Linked DNA regions of Homo sapiens: regions 1, 2 and 4 are each linked to region 3. Evidence: promoter capture Hi-C in 16 types of primary human blood cells and fetal thymus (Javierre and others, 2016). All regions are on one chromosome and are shown on one strand. The core of a region is centred on a gene start or on the middle of the fragment in contact, and the rest is flanking DNA. Distances in the headings are between cores, read along the strand shown.

Region 1 (3,449 bases), core at 947-3,446, 680 kb before region 3:
GAGAATGTGGGGGAAACATTTCAAGCAGAGGAGCAGCAGGTGCACAGACCCTGAGGTGGGAGCATGGCTGGCGGGGCCTGATGCACAGCAGTGAGGCTTCTGTGGCTTGGGTGAGGGACCAGTGGCAGAGCGAGTTGTGGGTGAGGCGGCAGGGACCTGGGCCCTTGGTCTGAGTGAGATGGGACACCATCAGAGGATCTTGAACAGAGGAGCGGTGTGATCTTCATTTTACCCATAAAGTTACGGCTGTCATGGAAGCTAAGGGAAGTCAGGGACAGCAGCTGGGAGACCAGTTAGGAAGCAGTTGGAATGTTCTAGAAGAGAAGCGATGCCTTATGCCAAGGCAGTAGCAGTGTAGGTGGTGAGAAGCAACCAGATTTTTGTATTAAGTTTTAAAGTTAAGGCTGGCAGGATTTGCTGGTGATGCAGGTGTGGTTTATGGAAAAGAAAGAGGAGAGTTGAAGGTGATGACGAGCAAGGCTTTTGACTTGAGCCCCTGGGAGGCTGGAGCTGCCATCAACGTGGGGAGGCTGGTGGCAGCACAGTTGTAGGTGTTTAATGTGGGATCCTGTTGGCTGTTGCAGTAGGGATACTAAGTAGCCACCTGGCTGCCACTCACTCTGAGTCATTCTGGGTGGGGCAGGTGCCAGGGAGCGGAGAGTGGCACCCACTATAAATGAACAATTCTGTTAAGTAATTGTGAAATCGTCAGTGGTCATTTTATTTTAATGATAATGGCATTTTAGAGTGAATGTTTGTTTACTGAGCCTATAGAGTTCCATACATAACCCAGTGTTAAAGTCTTCAGTTTCCAGATGAGAAAACTGAGTTTTGATGAACTGACTCTTGGGAGGGGAATGAGCAGAACTGTGGGCTTGCATTAAAGGGGAGTCTACTGAGGCCTCAGGGACAGGGAGACCTTCACAGAAGTGCAATCAGAACCTGGGTGTCAGCACCTCCAAATGGTGGGGGTGTTTCACAATGTGGACCTGTGGGAGATGGGGGAGAGGGGCCCAGGGGAACCCTGACCTTTAGGGGCTGGGCAGAGGAGGGATCTCAAGCCAGAGTCTTCAAAAGAGCAACCAGAGATGTGAGCACAGACTGGGATGAGTGGGCTATGGCTGCAAGAGCAGTGGCATTCCCAGGAAGAGGGAGATAGATTCATAGTGAGCAAGATGATGTGTCAGGAGGTCAGGCAAAGGAAGGGTCAAGATGTAGTGTCAAGGAGTTCCCACATAGGGGACAGTACAGGTGACATAGGTCACTTTGAGAGGCAACAAGATGTGGCTCCGCAGTCACGTCAGCTGGGCTCACAACTTCCACCTATGACCTTGACCAAGTGTCTCGGACCCTTGGTGCCTTATTCTCTGGGTACTTGAGAATAATTCCGGGAGGTTGTGAGGATTAAATAGGAGTGGCCCTGGAAAGACTCAGGAGAATGTCTCATACCTTGTAAACACTACACATGTCGTTATTTGTAGAATTGGCATTAATGTTGGTGGGGAAAGGTGGAATGGGACCTGCAGAAGCTTGTTAGTTGAGCATGAATGAATGAATGGTAGGTGAGGATGGAGATACTGTGCCTCAGGAACTGAGCCTCTGTCACCCTCTCTCCCCTTCCTCAGCAGTGACTTAATGTCAGAACCCAAAGGCACAATGACTAGAAAAGGGCTTTGTAAAAAGAATGAAAGCGTCATGCATCTTTGAGTTGGCCCAAGATCAAATTTGGTGTTGAATAATGAATCCCCAAGGCAGAGTTTATACGTTAAAACACACTTCCTATATTATTGTTTTGAAATGTTTCTGAATATCTAAAACAATTCCAATAGCAGAAATACTAATTGATGTTGAAAAAGATTGTTATAACCCTGGTAATGTTTAAAAGTGGTAATATTGATTATTGATCTGAGTCAGATGTTAAAGTAGCAGCGTCACGGTTCTTACATCAGTGCTGTCATGAGAGTCGCGGTGGAAGCCAGAGAGAGGAGGCATGTTCATACAAAGCAAATTAAATCCCCTCCCGAGGTGTGGGCCACCATACCTCACCAATGTATTGTGGTTTTGATGTTATTTCCTTAATGACTGATGTTGTTAATCATCTTTTCATGTGTTTACAGTTCATTTCTGTAAATTTGGAGAAATGTCTGTTCTGTTCAAGTCTCCTGCCCACTTTTTTACTGGGTTGTCTTTGTTGTTGAGTTTATAATGATATTAAATCCCTATCACATACATGATTTGCAAATATTTTCCACCATTCTGTGTCTCATTCACTTTCTTGATAATGTCCTTGATGTTAATTCTAAATGTTTGGTAGGGTTCACCAGTGAAGCCCCTTGGTCCTGGACTTTTTTTTTTTTTTTTTGAGACGGAGTCTTGCTCTGTCGCCCAGGCTGGAGTGCAGTGGCGCAATCTCGGCTCACTGCAAGCTCCGCCTCCCAGGTTCACACCATTCTCCTGCCTCAGCCTCCCGAGTAGCTGGGACTACAGGCACTCATCACCACGCCTGGCTAATTTTTTGTATTTTTAGTAGAGATGGGGTTTTACCGTGTTAGCCAGGATGGTCTCGATCTCCTGACCTCCTGATCCACCCGCCTCGGCCTCCCAAAATGCTGGGATTACAGGCGTGAGCCACCGTGCCCAGCTGGTCCTGGACTTTTTATTTAATGGCTTTTGATGACTGCCTCAGTCTCTTGTTATAGGTCTCTCAATTTTCTTTTTCTTCTAGAGCCTGTTTGGGTATGTTTCAAGGAATTTGATACATCTAGAGCATTGATCCCCAAGCCCTGGGCCACAGACAGGTACCGGTCCCTGGCCTTTTAGGAACAAGGCCCTGCCGCAGGAGGTGAGCGGAGGGCAAGTGAGTGAAGCTTCATCTGTATTTACAGCGGCTCCCCATCACTCACATTACCCCTGAACTCCACCTCCTGTCAGATCATCAGCAGCATTAGATTCTCATAGGGGCGCAGACCCTATTGTGCACTGCACATGCAAGGGATCTAGATTGCACACTCCTTATGAAAATCTAATGCCTGATGATCTGTCAGTGTCTCCCATCACCTCCAGATGGGACCATCTAGTTTCAGGAAAACACTCTCAGGGCTTCCACTAATTCTATATTATGGTGAGTTGTATAATTATTTTACCATATATTACAATGTAATAATAATAGAAATAAAGTGCACAATAAATGTAATGCACTCAAGTCATCCCAAAACCATCCCCCCTCACCTCACCATCCATGGAAAAATTGTCTTCCATGACACCAGTCTCTGATGCCAAATTGGGTGGGGACTGCTAGTGTAGATGATCTAATGTGTTGGTGCATAATTGTTCATGGCATTCTCTTACAGCCCTTTGAATTTCCGTAAGGTCGGTAGTAATGTCCCACTTCCACTGATGATTTTAGTTACTTGCATCTTTTTTTGTTAGTAATTCTAGCTGTAGTTTTG
Region 2 (3,526 bases), core at 463-2,962, 580 kb after region 3:
AAGGTTCTGAGAGGTATATGCCCTTCGTTTAAGAGCACAACATGGCTGGGTGCGGTGGCTCACGCCTGTAATCCCAGCACTTTGGGAGGCCGAGGTGGGTGGATCAACTGAGGTCGGAAGTTCAAGACCAGCCTGACCAACATGGAGAAACCCTGTCTCTACCAAAAATACAAAATTAGCCAGGCATGGTGGTGCATCATGCCTGTAATCCCAGCTACTCAGGAGGCTGAGGCAGGAGAATCACTTGAACCCGGGAGGCAGAGGTTGCAGTGAGCCAAGATTGTGCCACTGCACTCCAGCCTGGGCGACAAGAAGGAAACTTCGTCTCAAAAAAAAAAAAAAAAAAAAAAAAAGGAATACAACAGACACTGGTATGTAATGCAGGCACACTCATTTGGGGTAGCAGGAGGTTAAACCTTTAAGTCTTAGTCATCCCATTGGCTCGTGAGCACTGAGAGGGTGGTGGGACATGGATCACCCAGGCTTGGGATTCTGGGGTCTGGATTCGGGACCTCTGTTGTGGTCAGATAGAAGAAGGGGTGGTGAATTTAGAATCAGACCAGGAGAGTCCCTGGATAAGAGCAGGGACAATTTGGGTCACAGAGTAGCTAACAGGCTGGGGACAAAAGGTGGGGTGGGTTTGGGGTTCTGGGCTTGAGTTAGGGGAGAGTTTCCAATGCTGGCTGAGGCTCATACAGGAAGCCAGTCTGGGAAGTGGGTGGTGACAGGGTCTGCAATACCAAGTAGGAGCAGGGGCTCTGGCTAGGCCGGAAGCCACGTGGGCAGGATTTCCTGGTATAATGGGAAATGGGTCTACCGGAGGCCAAAGGAGAGGCTGGAATGTGAGGCTCTATCGGGTTGGAGCTGGTAGTTAGATCCAGAGGGGAACCAGATTCCAAAACCCAAGTACTCGGTGAGACTAAGGATCCTGAAGGGGGACGGTTCTACACTCTAGGAAGGGGGTCCTGGGTGTGGGCAGGGACAGGAATATCAGAGTAGCACAGAGTTCCTTGTTCCGTTTAGAAAAGGAGTGGCGACTCCGGATCTGAATGGGAACCCCGGATCAAGATCCCGGAAAGTAGATCCCGGGACAGACCAAAGTATTGGGGGTCCAGACTACGGAGGTGGGGGGGCGATGGGAGATCCCAGATAGGAAGTGAATACCCGAATAGGATGAGGGATCATCTAGAAGAATTTGGGGTCCAAACTTTGAGGCAGAGTTCTGGGTATAAATGTTAACTGCCGAACAGAATTAGGGAGAACCCCCAAGACTCGTCTAGGGGACTCCAGACTATGAAGAAGTTCTAGGGGGTGAATAGGGAATCCCACGCAAAAATCGGAGCAGGGAGTGGGGGAGCGGAGATCCAGGGCAGGGACTCAGGGTCCCAATGGTACTGGGGTCCCGGAGTTGAATCGAAGCTCCTGAAAATCCAGACTGGGGGGGTGAGAATCCTAGGTGTGAACAGCGGGGTCCCTGGGCAGTATCGGGGATCACAACTCCGAAGCGGGGTCCGGGAGTGGGGAAAGGGATGGGCGCGCGCGCCTTACCTGATGCCGCCAGCGGAAGAGACTGGCCGTGTCGATGTTGGGGTGCGTCTCGTCTTCATCATCAGACACCTCAATGTGGTCCCACACGCTGTAGTCCACCATCTTGCCTTGGCGGCCCAGCCCGCTCCGGCTCGGGTGGCGGCGACGGCGGCAGCAGTGGAGACTAGGAGCGCGGAGCCCCGCCCCTTCCGCTTCCGCCGAGCGCGGGAAACCCCGCCCTGTGTGACGTCACATCCCTAGTAACCGCGGCAGCGGCACTAGCTACCCAGCCAGCCTTAAAGGGCCCTGCGTAAGTGTTCCGGCCCCCTGGAGTTCCCGCAGAGACTCCGCGTCATCGGGCGCTGGGGCTCCGCTAGGTCTCCTGGGGGCATATGAGTGCGCGCTTCAACTCCGAGCCCCCCTCATCTCCCGCCGCTCCACGGTGGGCGTTTGGGGTGGCAGGGAGGGGACGGTTGATGAGACTGAGAGGACTGTCCCCTCAGCCACGCCGCAGTGACGTCTGCAAGGGGTAGGGACACGGCGGGAAGGCCCTCCCCCTGCCCTTCGTAAACGGGGACCTAAGCCTGCGCTGGAGAGGGGCGCCTGATGACTCCTCGGACTTTCTCAGCCCGAGGAGGACTGGACCTGCCCTGGGGGTGTCTAAATCGGGGGTGGTATGGCCCTCCCCTTGCAGGGTTAAACGTGGAGGGGAGACTGTGGCCCTGCCTTGGGAGCTGGGGTTTCCCCGCCTCGGCAACAGCCTTCTCCTTGTCTTCCACCTCCTGCCATTCGCAGCGAGGACTCGCGCGAGCGCGCGCGCGCACACACACACACACACACACACACACGCACACACACACACACACACACTTTGGAATCACCCGGACCCCCTCAAAACGGGTCTCGGCTCCCCACCCCGCTGGCCGCTGGGTGTCGCTAGAGTCTAGCCCACGGCGCGTATTCCTGGCCCCGCGCTTGGTGGGGGGAATCGTGGAGGGGTGGAAGGGGGCTTTCCTTGTCGTCACAGTCTGGGGCCACGCATAGCCCCTCCCCGTTCGTCTTGGGGTACGCTTCCTCCGCCGGGGCTCTAAGGACTCCATTACTCTAAGCATGCAGGGCCTCGACCACCTCACACTTCCATGCATCCCAATCCACGCTTTGATACCAGGATAATAGGCCGTGTTGCAGCCTTGGGCCAGGATTATCTCAGATTAAAGGGTGCTCCCTCGGGGGTCAGGCTGGATAGGAGGAGCTCCAGCCACTCCGGTGAGGGGCGCCTCTTCCTAGTCTCCCCTGGAGCCGACGTTGGAGGCAGTGCCTGGAGAGAGCGAGCGAAGTTCTCCAGAAGGGGGAGGATTCCCCGGTGCATGGAGCGGGAAGGGCCATCGGACAAAAACGTCCTCCCGCTGCCGCCCTTCCCCCTCGCGCTTCATTCAAACCCGCGAGTGGGCGGGCAGGGGCGGGGGAGTCCCCATCTCCTACCCCTCCCTCTTCCCCTCCACCCTGGCAGTCCAGCACATCAGTGGCCGTCACGGCCCGGGCACGCGCGCGCACGGACCCACACCCCGGCGGCTCTCACAATCGCACACACACATACACACACACACCAGCAAACAAAGGGTCTGGACACCCCCGTCCCCTCCCGCCCCCCAGGCCAGGGAGGGCGGGGCATCCCCTCCCCAGGCCCCCCGCAAGGTAAGCTTGGGGCTGCGAGCTGCGGTGGGGAGGGGGACACGGTGCCACAGTGGGAGGGGGCCAGGAAGGTAGGGGGTTCCCCGGCTCCCCAGGAAAGTCGTACCCCCACCCCCACCGTATGCCCTTTAGGGATTCGGCCCCGTCATCAGCCTGGGGGTGTTTGGAGAGAATCCCAGATGTCGGGGATTCCCGGATAGGCGCGGGGGTCTCTTCCTGGCTCTGGAGACTGGAGCTGCCCAGCTTCAGCAAAACAGGGTTCCCGGAGCCTCAGCTTCCAGAACTGGGGATAGAGCGCCGGAAGCTT
Region 3 (3,313 bases), core at 784-3,283:
AAAAGCACGGATCACAGATTGTTCCTGGGGTTTTGTGTTCCTTTTCTCCCAGGCTTGTCCTTAACCTTGTCTACATAAACCTGTCAATTTATTGAGACCTGTCTCAGATACTTTTTGGTTTACAAATTGTTTGACTGAATTGAGGAAGGACGGTCCTTGTCCCACCAGCCCTCACAAACCTGGAATCTGGTACAAAGTGCTCCCCAAAGATACAGCTGCAGGAGATTGTGCAAATGTGCAATGTTTCCAGTTACCTCGCAGGCATTTAAGGTTGGTGACTGGCAGTGAGAAAGGAGAATAGGGAAAATGAGGCAGAAGAATAGCAAAGGGAATTAAAAGTTGGATAAAGGGTAAAATACGTAAAAGCAGAGAGCAGAAGCAAGGTGAAAGGGCACCCGCCCCTTCTTGCTCACCCAGCAAGAAGCAAGATAAATGGCAGAAGCTGAGGAGACAAAACAAAAGGAAGATTAAAAACTGAGTAAAGGCCGGGCACAGTGGCTCACACCCAACACTTTGGGAGGCTGAGGCAGGCGGATCACGAGGTCAGGAGATCGAGACCATCCTGGCTAACACAGTGAAACCCCGTCTCTACTAAAAATACAAAAAAATTAGCCGAGGGTGGTGGGGGGCGCCTGTAGTCCCTGTTACTCGGGAGGCGGCTGAGGCAGGACAACGGCGTGAACCCGGGAGGCGGAGCTTGCCGTGAGCCCAGATCACGCCACTGCACTCCAGCCTGGGCGACAGAGCGAGACTCCATAAATAAATAAATAAATAAATAAATAAAATTAAAAAAAAAACAGTAAAAATCCCACGGCCGGGGAAATCAGGACCAAACCAGTAAGGAGCAGCTCTTTAGGCATAAGCACGCGCATTAAAGACAAAAAGTATCCTTAACATGATAAGGATAACCAGCTCATTAGCGCTCATGCATATGGACGGCATATCATGAATGGAGGCGGCTCTCAAGCACACAGGGGCCAAAGTAAGCAACACACCTATCATTCAAAAAGGTAGACACTGGCTAGATATTAGGCAGCCTTGGGAAGAGAAAAAAAGCCTGGCCAATAAGGTGAAACCCCATCTCTACTAAAAGTACAAAAATTAGCCGGGCGTGGTGGCGGGCGCCTGTAATCCCAGCTACTTACTCGGGAGGCTGAGGCAGGAGAATCGCTTGAACCCGGAAGGCGGAGGTTGCGGTGAGCCGGCACCGCGCCATTGCACTCCAGCCTGTGCAACAGAGCGAGACTACGTCTCAGAAAAAAAAAAAAAAAAAGACCCAAACTATACCAAGCTGGGGCTGATCTTATCTCGCAGAGGTCAGTCCGCTCTCCCCACTCCGAGAGTGGAATACTGTGCTTAATAAACTTGCAGCTTTGCCATCTCTGTGTGTCTGGTCCAAATCTTTCTTCAGGACACCAAGAGCCTGGAACTGTCCGGCACCATGCGGTAACAGCAGCTGTTGGGCAGCGTAGAGTCTACTCTAGGATCAAGCTTCGCCTACTGACTGGAGTCCGTATCCCGGGGGAACGCGATGGCCAGAGGGAAGAGGTGAGCCAAATGCTCACCAAGCCCAGCCCTGAATGAACCCAGGGGGTCAGAAGGGATGACTGCAGAACTCGTCCCCCACCCCCACCCTCCGCCCTTGCTCCTAGTTGCCGCTGCAAGAGGCTTCGGGCTCAGGATCAGGAGCTTACCCCTACTCCCGGGACCCTCTGGCGTCCCCACCATGTGACCGAGTCTCCCTGCAACAAACAATGACTTCAAACGAGCTGGGCGCCGGCGCCTGACCTCTGACTCTCGCTCCACGCCCCTTCCCTGGCCACAAACCCGCCGAGGCCCCCCTCTCTACCCGGCGCGCCTACCACAGGCGCGACACCTGTCAAGCCTTGGGACACCGAAACCGTACCTGGGAACAGCAAACACACCACAGACTGCAGACCCGGAAGAACTTGTCCCAGTGTTGACCACACCCCCTGGCTAGGGGCAGGGCTTCCGGCCTCGAACTTTAACTTCCGCTTCCGGTTCCTAGCGTTAACTGCGACCGGGGTTCAGCGCTCGGGTGAGGAGCTGGTGGCGTCGGCAGGTTCGAGGCGATTCGAGGTGAGGGGGTCAAGCGGAGAGGCTCGGAGTCGGAGAAAGCTGTCGCGACCCAGCCACCCAGGGTCTGGGGTCGGTGGGAGGTGAGGCCAGGGAGTTTTGTGGCAGGGCTTTCAGGCGGCGAGAAGGGGCGGAGGCGCGGCTCCCCGGGGTTCGCGGCCCTGGGACAGGGGACTTGGGGCCTGGGAGTATTCGAGTCCGGGGGGTTGGGGGCAGAACGGAAGGCTCAGTAACCTGGAATTTTAGGGCCTGGGACTGGGAGACTTGTAGGCTGGGGCTTCTGGGCCTGGGAGACGCCTGAAGCTCTGACTTTGCTGCCTCCCACCCACCCCCCGCTTTGTGTAGCTCCAGCTAGGATGATCGAGGTTGTTTGCAACGACCGTCTGGGGAAGAAGGTCCGCGTTAAATGCAAGTATCCACTGGCAGCCGAGAGGCAGTGGTACCCGCAGGGGTGCTTGGCGTGAGGCAGGCAACTCAATCTGTGTTGTCGGATGGTTTTAGTTAAACCCGGGAGAGGGGGCGGATGGGGTCCTGGCAGATGGTATTCTGCCCTAGAATGTCCTCTTCCTCGTTCTACCGCTTCCATTTGCCTTAACTGCTCTGCGCCCAGCACGGATGATACCATCGGGGACCTTAAGAAGCTGATTGCAGCCCAAACTGGTACCCGTTGGAACAAGATTGTCCTGAAGAAGTGGTGAGTGCAGCGGTAGAGCCACTGGGTGGACTGGACTAGGCCGGAAGGTTTTGGTTGGGGGAGCGCTGCAGGCAGCCCTTTGCTTAGGCTTGGCTACCTCATTTGGCCTACAGACTGAAGAGCCTCCTTAGCCTTATCTCTGAAATGTCTCTTTTTCTTAGGTACACGATTTTTAAGGACCACGTGTCTCTGGGGGACTGTATCCTTTGTGTGACTTTTTGAGGAAGCATCTACATACCCAGCCTCGGTTATCTGTTCAAAACTAAAGTCTGCATGAGCTTATGCATATTAAGTGTTTAACTTAATACGTGGCACATGGTGAGCACTTAGAAAATGGGAGCTAGGTAATTATTTGGTTGGGGAGGAGAGTGGTTGGTGAAATAGTTTGACTTCAAGTTCAAAATATTTATTACTGACCTCCACCTGAGTGCTGGACAGTAGGTCAGGGTGGGGTGAGACTCAGGCATATCTATTGTGCAAAAGGAGCAGAAACTTTTTACAATTTTTATTTTATTTATTTAT
Region 4 (3,326 bases), core at 760-3,259, 510 kb before region 3:
ACACTGAAACTTGGAAAGGAAGCTTCTTCCTCCTTCCTTGTCTTCCAGCACCCTACACTGGTAATGGGTAAAAGAGAAATATTTATAAGGCCCATCTCCATTATCACAAAGCAGAAAAAAAGGACAAATTTGTAGCATAAGTAATAAATCTATAACTAGGACAGTGGTCAAAGCATGTTTTGCCTTGGTTTTCCTTTACTGACAGACCAGGTCCTAGCAACACCAAGAATTGGTTCATGGTATCCAGACTGCTTTTCCTCCCAATTTGTGGCAGGTCAATTCTCCCTGACAATCACACAGACAGGCCTGCATGACAGTCACACAGACAGACCTGCACAGCACTTCTGTTACACAGACAAATTTCCACAAAACTGCCTTAACATTGAGCAAATAGTTAAATCTAGGGAAATCAGTGCCCAGACATCAAAGCTAGAAATGAAACACATGGTCAGTTGAAGCTTCACACGGGCTTCTCCCTAACCTGGAGCAAGCCAAAATAATACAGACAGTCTTACATTCCTAGTACCAGCACGTGTCTCAGGTGGACGAAATCTGAGATGAGTCAAGATAACAGAGGCAGCTGTTTGAATAGATTCACTGGAGAGTCTAAGGCAGCTCTCTGGACCCAAGCTGTAAAGGAGATAATGTGTCCAGAGTTGGTTCCTGCTGGTGGGTTTGTGGTCTTGCTGACTTCAAGAATGAAGCTGCGGACCTTTGCAGTGAGTGTTACAGCTCTTAAAGATGGCATGGACCCAAAGAGTGAGCAACGTTTATTGTGAAGAGCGAAAGGACAAAGCTTCCACAGCGTGGAAGGTGACCCTAGCGGGTTGCCTTGCTGGCTGGGGGGGGGTGGCCAGCTTTTATTCCCTTATCGACCCCTCCCATGTTCCGTTTCTGTCCTATCAGAGTGCCCTTTTTTCAATCCTCCCTGTGATTGGCTACTTTTAGAATCCTGCTGATTGGTGCGTTTTACAGAGTGCTGATTGGTGCATTTTACAATCCGCTTGTAAGACAGGAAAGTTCCCCAAGTCCCCACTCAACTCAGGAAGTCCAGCTGGCCTCACCTCTCAATTATCCCTCTAAACAGGTCACCCAACAGCTGTTGGGAACTGGGTGATGACCGCTCTGGGCTACTTCCTGCCGGATAGGGGTGAAGAAGGGGCCCTGCAGTTGTAGTGTCCTCCAGAGGGGAACTCTCTAGGCCAGTGAAAGGGCCAGTGGGTCAGTCCAGGGGTCCTCAGTAGAAGTTCTGAGTTGAGCTCATTTGGGGTTCCATTTGTAAGACCCTCTGTAGCTTGATGGCCTCGATCCTGGAGGAAACAAATTTGACAAGGTTGTTAAAAATACAGGACCCAAAGGCAAGTAATAGCAAGATGGCTGTCCTGAGACTGAGAAAGGGGAGAAGCCATGTTGCCCAACTCCAGAGGTTGGTATAAGAGTTTGAAAGGCGTTGTCTGATTTCAGAAGCCTTTTCCTGTAAACGATAAGCGGCATCTCATACTATCCCTTACTGGTTAGTGTAAAAGCAACACTCTTCCCTTAAGAATGTACAGTCCTCCTTTCTCAGCAGTGAGGAGGTCTAGGCCTCAGCGGTTTTGGACAGTCACTGCCACTAAAGAGTCTATTTGGGATTGTAGAGTAACGATAGATTTTATTTCTTGCAAACTGTTTGAAAAATCTTTTGAGAGTGTGTGGTAATAGGATAATGAAGTAGATAAACTGGCTATTCCAGTTCCTGTAGCAGTGGCCATTCCTAACCCTATAAGTTGGAGTATTAGTTGTATGGCCCTGCACTGACAAACTTGAGCTTTGAGGGGCACTGATAGGGTCTGATTTCCTGGGGCAATGTCAATGTTGGGACTTAGGAAGACTAAGGTGCAGGTGCGTCTCCAGTTGGTGGGGAGGCAGATATAGGTTGAAGTTCCACATGGGAAGAATATGCCTTGGCTGGGTAGACAGAAATGGTTGTGTATGTTAAAAAGGCGTGTGAGTTTGTTCTTTTCATTTTCCCATACTCCTGGAGTACTTGTCAAGGTAGCTCCAGTGAGCAGCTGGAAAGGGGTATTGGGAGCAAACTGAGTGGCTCCCTGTGTTCTATTTTCCCATTAGAGAAAAAACCATTTTGTATCTACTAGGAACCATTCAAGAGAGTGATTGAAAGAGGGGATGAGAAGGCATTCATTAGTGGTGGGGGCGCTGCTGCAGGGGTTCCAGGGGTGAATGGTCATGCAGGGAGGATGTTTGCCATTACAAACTGTTTAAGCAGGGAGGAGGTGATGATTTTAGGGGGCCCTGAGAAGCAGACAAGCCATCTGAATGGAGCTGTTTGGGTGACTCGGAAGTTACTATGATCAGTTGGGGCTTGAAGTTGTAGGGTATAATTACACTGATGGGATAGCAGGTGTCCCAGGGGCAGGCCTGATAACAGGTTCCATTGGATGCATAAAGGGGCTTGGAAAGTTAAGATGGTATTCGCGGTTACAGGGCCATGTATGGGTTTTTCATTGCTCATGTAATAGATGAAGTTGGAAATGTAAGAGCGTAAAAGCTGGATTGTACGTCCTGTTAGGGTATTTTTGGTCCTATCGGAGATGGGGAAGTTGGCTAATGATTGCATATTTACAAGTTGGAAAGGGTATTTTCCTTCATAACGGGTGTCCAAAGTTTAACTCGGGTGTGGTGAATCCAAGATTCCACTTCTGCCACCTTAACTGTAGTGGGGGTAGAGAGGATTACGGAGTATGTTCCTTCCCACAAGGAATCCATAGATGGGGAGGTAGAGGGGAGGGACTTGACCAACACTAGATCTCCTGGTTGGAACAACTCTGTTCCCTTGTCTTCGTGACATCCTTCGGGTAGGTTTTTAAGATTTTATTGATATTTTGCCAAAGAAGTTATATCTTTGACCAAACTGGCCATTTCCTGATAAAGTAGAAGGTCATTAGTGAGAAAAGGTCATCCATACAGCATTTCATATGGACTGAGCCCCATTTTGTGAGGAGAATTTCGGATTCTCAACAAGGCCATGGGCAACAGAGTAGGCCATGGGAAATGAGTTTCTTGTGTTAGTTTCCTTAGGTGCCTCTTGAGTGTTTCATTTGCCCTCTAGACCTTCCCTGAGGATTGTGGCCTCCAGGTGCAGTGAAGGTGATATTTTATCCCTAGTGCCCTGGAAATTCCCTGAGTTACCGTGGCTTTAAAAGCCAGACTGTTGTCGCTTTGTAAGCTTTGGGGAAGCCCAAATCTAGGAATTATTTAATGAATTAGGTCTTTAACCACTTCCTGAACCTTCTCTGTCTTGCAGGGGAAGGCTTCTATCCAATTTG

Evidence for each region. The method cuts DNA at HindIII sites, captures the fragments that hold promoters and counts their contacts. A CHiCAGO score of 5 or more calls a contact.
Region 1: a contact is called between a fragment that was not itself captured here and the fragment with the promoter of UBL5 in region 3, in 1 of 17 cell types (endothelial precursors). The highest score is 6.2, in endothelial precursors.
Region 2: the fragment with the promoter of CDC37 here is called in contact with the fragment with the promoter of UBL5 in region 3 in 2 of 17 cell types (total CD4 T cells and non-activated CD4 T cells); the score reaches 10.5 in total CD4 T cells.
Region 4: a fragment that was not itself captured here is called in contact with the fragment with the promoter of UBL5 in region 3 in 1 of 17 cell types (neutrophils); the score reaches 5.4 in neutrophils.

The regions. Positions count from the first base shown.
Region 1 is chr19:9,149,563-9,153,011 of GRCh38, forward strand. The region is part of intron 1 of ZNF317 (zinc finger protein 317); the gene reads left to right. Among named protein-coding and RNA genes, the nearest start is that of ZNF317, 11 kb to the left of the region's middle. The HindIII fragment of the contact is 1,338 bases long and covers 1,528-2,865 here.
Region 2 is chr19:10,401,830-10,405,355 of GRCh38, forward strand. It overlaps CDC37 (cell division cycle 37, HSP90 cochaperone), which reads right to left and starts at 1,713. Exons shown (of 8, transcript NM_007065.4): 1 at 1,549-1,713. The coding sequence starts at 1,650. MIR1181 (microRNA 1181) reads right to left here and starts at 1,709; the gene lies at 1,629-1,709. RefSeq lists silencers at 1,429-1,488, 3,199-3,248 and an enhancer at 1,889-2,238. The HindIII fragment of the contact is 3,760 bases long and covers 1-3,225 here.
Region 3 is chr19:9,825,885-9,829,197 of GRCh38, forward strand. It overlaps UBL5 (ubiquitin like 5), which reads left to right and starts at 2,034. Exons shown (of 5, transcript NM_001048241.3): 1 at 2,034-2,100; 2 at 2,443-2,509; 3 at 2,708-2,791; 4 at 2,953-2,990. The coding sequence starts at 2,454. RefSeq lists enhancers at 1,616-2,340, 1,751-1,800 and a silencer at 1,844-2,150. The HindIII fragment of the contact is 5,434 bases long and covers 1,490-3,313 here.
Region 4 is chr19:9,313,435-9,316,760 of GRCh38, forward strand. No RefSeq gene overlaps it. Among named protein-coding and RNA genes, the nearest start is that of ZNF699, 5.3 kb to the left of the region's middle. The HindIII fragment of the contact is 2,430 bases long and covers 795-3,224 here.